2 separate regions of the Homo sapiens genome follow, and region 2 is linked to region 1. The links are contacts of gene promoters, found by promoter capture Hi-C in human tissues and cell types (Jung and others, 2019). All regions are on one chromosome and are shown on one strand. The core of a region is centred on a gene start or on the middle of the fragment in contact, and the rest is flanking DNA. Distances in the headings are between cores, read along the strand shown.

The links. The method cuts DNA at HindIII sites, captures the fragments that hold promoters and counts their contacts. A contact is called where the count stands out against the background at its distance.
Region 2: a contact is called between a fragment that was not itself captured here and the fragment with the promoter of CHRNA1 in region 1, in 1 of the 25 tissues and cell types used here (pancreas).

What each region holds. Positions count from the first base shown.
Region 1 is chr2:174,762,921-174,766,550 of GRCh38, forward strand. It overlaps CHRNA1 (cholinergic receptor nicotinic alpha 1 subunit), which reads right to left and starts at 1,552. Exons shown (of 9, transcript NM_000079.4): 1 at 1,432-1,552. The coding sequence starts at 1,474. RefSeq lists an enhancer at 1,553-2,052. The HindIII fragment of the contact is 8,948 bases long and covers 1-3,630 here.
Region 2 is chr2:175,157,046-175,160,675 of GRCh38, forward strand. The region is part of intron 1 of ATF2 (activating transcription factor 2); the gene reads right to left. Among named protein-coding and RNA genes, the nearest start is that of MIR933, 8.8 kb to the right of the region's middle. The HindIII fragment of the contact is 7,995 bases long and covers 1-3,630 here.

The sequences.
Region 1 (3,630 bases), core at 302-2,801:
ATTATCTTAACCTGATTCTGTATCTCTTGCTACCTTTGGCTAGTTCAGGCTGTGTTTTCTGACTGTGCATGTAATAAACCAAGTCTCCAACTGACCACATTCCAAAATGTATAAATTAAGTGACCTTGGGCAGGTCAGCTTTAGTTTCCTTGTAATAAAAAATTGAGGATGTTGGACTGCCTGATCTAGCTCTAAATTTCTATAAAACACCCATGGAAATCAATGCCAGCAAACTCGAGATTTGACCTAAATACATATCACATACTTCTTTAATAGCTAATCATGCATTTTTGGTTAGCAATAACCAAAATCCTAAGAGATCTCTTAAGGATGTTTACATTAAAGCATATCATTTAAGAATTTTCCTGTGACTGTGGTTTTGCGTGCACGCATGTGTGTGCACGCGCGCGCACACACACACACACACACACACACACATCAGGCCAGCTTTGGCTGGACAGAGTCCAAATCCCACATGATATAATTTATCTGAGTTTAGGCTCTTTCACTCAACTCTGATATTGAAAAAAATTAATAATAAAGCTTTTTGCCTCTTGACCAGAAGGCCTGTGTTTTTCAGAGCAATATTGGAAATGAAAAATCACAGGATGTCAGCCACCTTGTTTCTCAGTTGGGATGATATCACCAGTAAACTTTTATGTGAAGCAATCAGCAAACATCTCCTGTTTCCCTCTAGCGGAAGTCTGGGATTCAGGATGGTGTTTCAGCTGCTGTGTTAGGACACATTCCAGAGTAGAATGCAGGTCAAATGCTGTGCAAGGTTTTATAGTTTCAATTCAAACCCAAACCTATATATAGTAACATCTTAAAAAAAAAAAGTAGGTAGGAATGTATTCATATGGAATTTTTTTTAACTTCAGAAATTTTGAAAAAATTAAAAAATATTTGTCTCTGTGGAGAGAGTTTAGTTATGATTATTAACTGGTTTCTATCTCCAGCACATGTAGCTGTCAATCAGTCCTCTTTATTATTAGAATTCTCCTGGAGCAGTAAAGGGACTTGTTAACTCCATTGTATGTGATTATAAGGCACTGTTCTAAGTATCCATAGTTGTTTAAATATGAACCCCCGGACACTACCATGATCCACAAGTGGTCCAGGTCCTACAAATGGTGCCGAGTGTTCAGAGGGATGAGTCGGCTGCCAGGCATGATGGAGGGAGAGACATGCGTGTCTATCTTGAAGTCTTTGACCAGGCAGTTTCTATTTTAATTAGATAAGGCAAACTAAAAATCTTTATCCAAAAACTCAATCAAGCTAACATCAGGAAGAAACTGACAGAGCAGCCCCTGGTTGGGGAGGCTCTGCCATTCTGTGGTCTCATCAAAGAAGCAAGACTTTGATTTGGGGGCCTCCAGCACTTTAGCCTCAAAGGAGAGCCCTCTCCCCACCCCTGACCCCAGCACTTACCTGAGCAAAGGCTAAAGAGCAGGAGGAGAGGCCAGGGCTCCATGGGCTACCGGAGCTTGTGTGGACCAGGGCAGAGTGGTGGCCTGTGCTTCTCACTGGCACTCTGGCTGGGTGCTTGTCTGCTGGAGGGTTTGGAAAGCGAGTCGGCTCACTAGAGCTATTGTTTTACACCACCTGTTTGTGGGAGCGACAGCTGGGCTGCCCTCAGCCCTGGAGCCCAGGGAGTTACTGGGACTGTACACCATTACAGATATGCCTCACTTTACACAATTGCTTACCCTTGACAAGCTGAGTATGAACTGCATTATATTTTAAATGCACCAGTAGTCAGATCTTAATGAAAAAAAAATGTATAGGAAGGAAGGAATTATTTTAAATGGTGAGCAAACTGCCTCTCTTTTGTGTAAACCAGAACCTCATCTCTGTGGGTTGACTTGATTAGGGTCATTTGGTCTGAGTAGATAGTCAGCTGTTTGTCCTAAACCACAAAAATCCACATTCTGCAAACATGGCTTCAGTTTCATTTCCTCTGCTTCAGTGTTAGGCTGAGGGTGCCGGGGGCTTTTCTGACTGCCTGGATTTCAGAAAAGTGTAGCTGGTGTTGAGTCTGCTGCTGGGAAGCCCCCACGTTGATTGGGTTTGGTTTTTAACAAAGACAGCTTCTTCCATAAAACTGGCTTTACTGGCCCCCAGAGTGGCTGTTCCAACCCCTGCCTCTGTATCAGGCAATACCTATCCCACACGAACCATTAGCTGGAGCAAATTGCCCACGTCCTATGCACTGTGATTCAAGCGAAGAGTAATTATTGGGAAAAAGTGTCCCACCGCATCAGCAGTCGTTCCGGGTTCCTGCCTCCTTCCATCCGTCCCTCTGCCTACTCTCACTCAGGGAAGCAAAGAGCAGAGTGGTTCAGCTTTTCAATTATCTTGCTTGAAAAACATCCTAAAAACCAGCAGTTAGTAATTTCTCAGTCTGAGAAGTATTGTTACCCTAGCTGTGCTTCTTTGCAGGGTGTGAGGTGAGTTCCCAGAAGGAGACAGTTACTTAAAGGTACCCTGCCTGTTCCTTCCAGGCCTCCTTCCCACATGGAACTAGGTGAGAAAGGTCCTCTCACCTCAAGCCCACAACAACATCCTGACAGATCCTCTCATTCCAGTGGATCCAAACAAATCATTAGAGAAGGGGCTTGGAGGGTAGAGGAGAGAGCTGCAAGCTCATACTATTTATATTTTTTGTTTAAACTGTGGGAGATCAGTTAACTGTTTGCTAAAAAAAAATTTGGTTCTCTCCCTTCCATGGAATAGCCCCGTGGCAGAAATACAACCCCCACCCTCTGACCAGCCCCTTCCATCTAAATGGAGCCATGGGACTGACCTCTGGCCAGTGGCATGAGTGGAAAAATGTTCTCAGACTCACAAACCTACCAGAGCTCAGCCCCGCCCTTCTAGTCTTCTGACCGGCTAGAATGGACATGGTCCCAAAGTTAACCTTAGAAACCATGTTCTGAAGGTGGTGTTGCTTTTGACATTCTGAATCCTTGAATGACTGCATGGAGGGGGACCCCCTATCCACCTGCTCACCACCCAGCACTATTTCAATGAAAACAAAACATGCATCGTGCTGAGCCATCAAAATCCTTGGGTTTATTTGTACAGCAGCTAGTGTTCCGTAATTAATAAAATATGTAATCCTTTGCACTAGTATCCTGAGGTTAAAAATAAATTCTAAAATATGTAGCACTGCAGCAGAAGGCAAGAAAATTGATACTGGAGGCTGAAAATATGAAGACCCATGTTATATGGTATCAAATCATTTCATAAACTGTTGTCCTCAATTACTTGGTGAACAATGTGTCTACTGAGCCTGTAGCTCCCAGAATAGAGGCTGGTAAACCCAAAGTTAGTGCACCATGGCTCTTTCTGGCTTTGTTTAGCAAGTCAGTACAAGGAAGAGCTGAGCTCAGGCAAAAATGTGCTGGTTCAAGAGCAGAAATGAAAAGAAATAGAATGAGTCCAGAAATGTGGAGTCTTCTGTTTTGAACTTCAAAAGAGTAAGTGAAAACATGGAATAAAGGCTTTGAGCAACCAAAGCCCGTTAAGACTTCTCTTTAAACAGGCAGTTTCATCACCACAGCAAAGATCACTTTAAGGGTGCTTTCTTCACAGCCAAATCTATTTTTTTTTTCAGATGGCTTCAAG
Region 2 (3,630 bases), core at 302-2,801, 390 kb after region 1:
AAAGTTTCTAAAGGGCATACAATTTCCAGCAATGTCCTGGGTTTTCGTGAAATTCAGTTTTCTAAAGATGCACTCAAATCAATGGCAAAATGCAGACATTATGCAATATTTCATTGTCTTTGGTAAAACTATTCTCATTATTTTGTCTCCTCACAGTATTAACTCTGAAATCCACTTTGTGCAGGATCTGCCATTACTAGGATGTCAGAAAAACAATAAGGCTGGATCTGTAAGAGGCAAGTTATTTCCAAACAGCAGTAATAGGACCTTGGCCCCCATCCCCACTTCATGTATCTATGCAGTCTATCTACACAGCCACGCAGGGTGAGAGCTCACAATGACCAATCAGGAGTCTTGAGATCCCCTCTCGATTGGGCAAGAAGCAAACGTCTGGGAGGAACATTGGAAACTGAGGCCATCTCTACAGGAACCCAAGTGGCCATGCTGTGGTGTGGTCAGGCCAGCGACTCTTACCAATTAAACAGCCAATATGTTCACCACTAAGTAGATCCTATTGATTGGTTGATGATTGCTGCTGATGTGGCCCCTTTCCCACAAACATAAAAAAATAAAGGGAAGATCTGGGGCCAACACTGAAGGGGGAGGGGCACGCTAGCACAATGACACTAGACACGACTTTATTCCCTTTCAAACATCTGTTATCATGGGCTGGGCACAGTGGCTCATGCCTGTAATCCCAGCACTTTGGGAGGCCAAGGTGGGTGGATCACGAGATCAGGAGTTTAAGACCAGCCTGGCCAAGATGGTGAAACCCTTTCTCTACTAAAAATACAAAAATTAGCTGAGCGTAGTGGCAGGTGCCTGTAATCCCAGCTACTCAGAAGGCTAACGCAGAGAACTGCTTGAACCCGGGAGGCAGAGGTTGCAGTGAGCCGAGATCGCGCTACTGCACTCCAGGCTGGGTGACAGAGTGAGACTCTGTCTCAAAAAAAAAAAAACACCAATATCTGTCATCATGTAGGCACAGCCAAGGTGAACTGAAGCAGGATACGAACACTCAGTACATTCATGACTATCTTCATACATTCCTGAAATGATCCTAGAGATCACCTTGGGAATAGCAAAGTGGTCATAATAACAAACCTAAATCAAGGAGTTTGAAAACCTGCAGCCACGACCTAGTAGGACTTCACTTGCCTCTCAAGACTAAAGTATTTTGAATTCAGGATTTTTTTTTTTTTTTTTTTTGAGACAGGGTCTTGCTCTGTAAGTACAGTGGCCCAACCATGGCTCACTGCAACCTGGATCTCCTGGGCTCAAGTGATCCTCCCACCTCAACCTCCTCAGTAGGCGGAACCACAGGTACACATGCCACCACACCCAGCTAAATTTTTTTTGGAGTGACCGGTCTCACGATGTTGCCCAGGCTGGTCTTGAATTCCTTGAGCTCAAACTCTTATTTTAAATTATCCAGGGATAATTTTAAAATGGATAACTTAAAATGGATATTTTAAATGGATAATTTAAAATAAGAGTGCCTTAAAGCTTCCTGATCCTACGGCAAGAAGCAAACGTCTGGGGGGAACACTGGAAACTGAGGTCATCTCTACAGGAACCCAAGTGGATATTTTAAATGGATAATTTAAAATAAGAGTGACTTAAAGCCTCCATTAATCAAGGCAATGATCCTCCTGTATTAGCCTCCCAAAGTGCTGGGATTGTAGGTGTGAGCCACTGCCCCTGGCCAGGAAAATTTTAAATTGTATGATTACACTATGATCCTCTACAGTAAAAAAAAAAATACATTTCAGGGCTATCAAAATATATAAAAGTAACATATGTAAAATACACAGAATAGTGCATGACACTAAAATAGTATTTATTAAGTTCATAAATTTTACTGCATTTTACTTTGACTTTAAATGTACATTTTTCTAATGCCTAATAAATACCTAATCTTACTATCTTCTTTATTTTTAAGGCCAGAAACTGAACTACATACTCAGTTTGACTTTTAGATAAGAGTTTTGGCCAGGCATGATAGCTCAACCCTGTAATCCCAGCACTTTGGGAGGCCAAGGTAGGCAGACTGCTTGAGGTCAGGAGTTCAAGACCAGCCTGGTCATCATGGAGAAACCCCGTCTCTACTAAAAATACAAAAAAATCAGCGGGGCGTGGTGGCGGAGACTATAGTTCCAGCTGCTCAAAAGGCTGAGGCATGAGAACTGCTTGAGCCTGGGAGGTGGAGGGTTCAGTGAGCTGAGAACCTACCACTGTACTCCAGCCTGCGCGACAGAGCAAGACTCCGTCTCAAAAAAAAAAAAAAGTTTTATATTAATCTTTAACCCATGATTCTGATGCTATCTGTAAGTTTATTTGATATATAATGTTTAGTTCATCAATTTAGGTAACTCAAATTCATCAGCTGAGAGAAAAATATTAAGCCCAATGTTAACAAGGAAAGCAGCAGTATTTTTTCCCCCACTCACAGCAGACATGAGAGAGGTCCTTCACACAATTCCCAAGAGTATACTAAAATTTTGATGAAATTTCTCAAAGTTGATGGTACACGTAAAAAGTATCACAAACTTCTCCAGACTGTATTATGAGTATGTGAAGAGTGAAATCAGTTCAATATCTCAAAAATATTCAATTAAAATATCAGTAGTCCAATTTTTAAATTAAATATTTTTTAAGTGAGTCTTGATTATTCCTAGGCAATGTAAAGAAAGCAAGTAGTTTTATAGTTTAAAATTATAATAGAATAACAAATACATAAATACAAAAAATTTACAGAGTAATAATTATGAATATAAACAACAGTAGCACAAGTTGTGCTAATAACATCACCTTAGATTTGGTAACAGAATTATGTGGTCTAAGGTCCATAGCATTATTTTTGCCCAAGGTAGGTGATAAAATACCTTTCATTGCTTTTTTTCTCCTGAGAAACTTATTTTTTGTAAAAGCAAAAAGAAAATAGAAATAGAAATTCAGTTCTCCAAGAATTACAGTAATTCATAGTCATCACCATTATGAAAAATACATCAATAAAAATTTCTCATTATGAAGAGGGCACAAATAAAATACACTACCGGCTTGGTGTGGTGGCTCACGCCTGTAACCCCAGCGCTTTGTGAAGCTGAGATGGGAGGATTACTTGAGGCCAAGAATTCAAGACCAACCTGGGTAACATAGTGAGACTCCATCTCTACAAAAAATTAAAAAATTAGCTGGGTATAGTAGCACATGCCTGTAGTCCCAGCTACTCGGGAGGCTGAGGTGGGAGGATTGCTGAAGCCCAGGTGTTTGAGGCAGCAGTGAACTACGACTGCACCACCACACTCCAGCCTGGGTGATAGAGACCCTGTCTCTAAAAATGAAATAAAGTAAGACTATGGATTATGTACTATGCCCATTAAAACAATGATAAGCTCACCTCTTTCTTCCGTTTTCAAAGTATGTCAAAATTCAAGTAAGTAAAGTGTATTACTACAAAAAATATCCCTCGACCCAACATCCATATATCAACAATCATTAAAACCTACCTTACAAATGATAAAATATTTCACTGATTCTCAACTTTGTGGCCAAAAATTGATAGTGTAGTTATAATTGTATAATTAGCAGAGACTTCAAAACAACTTTAGAACTGTGGTATTTTAATCA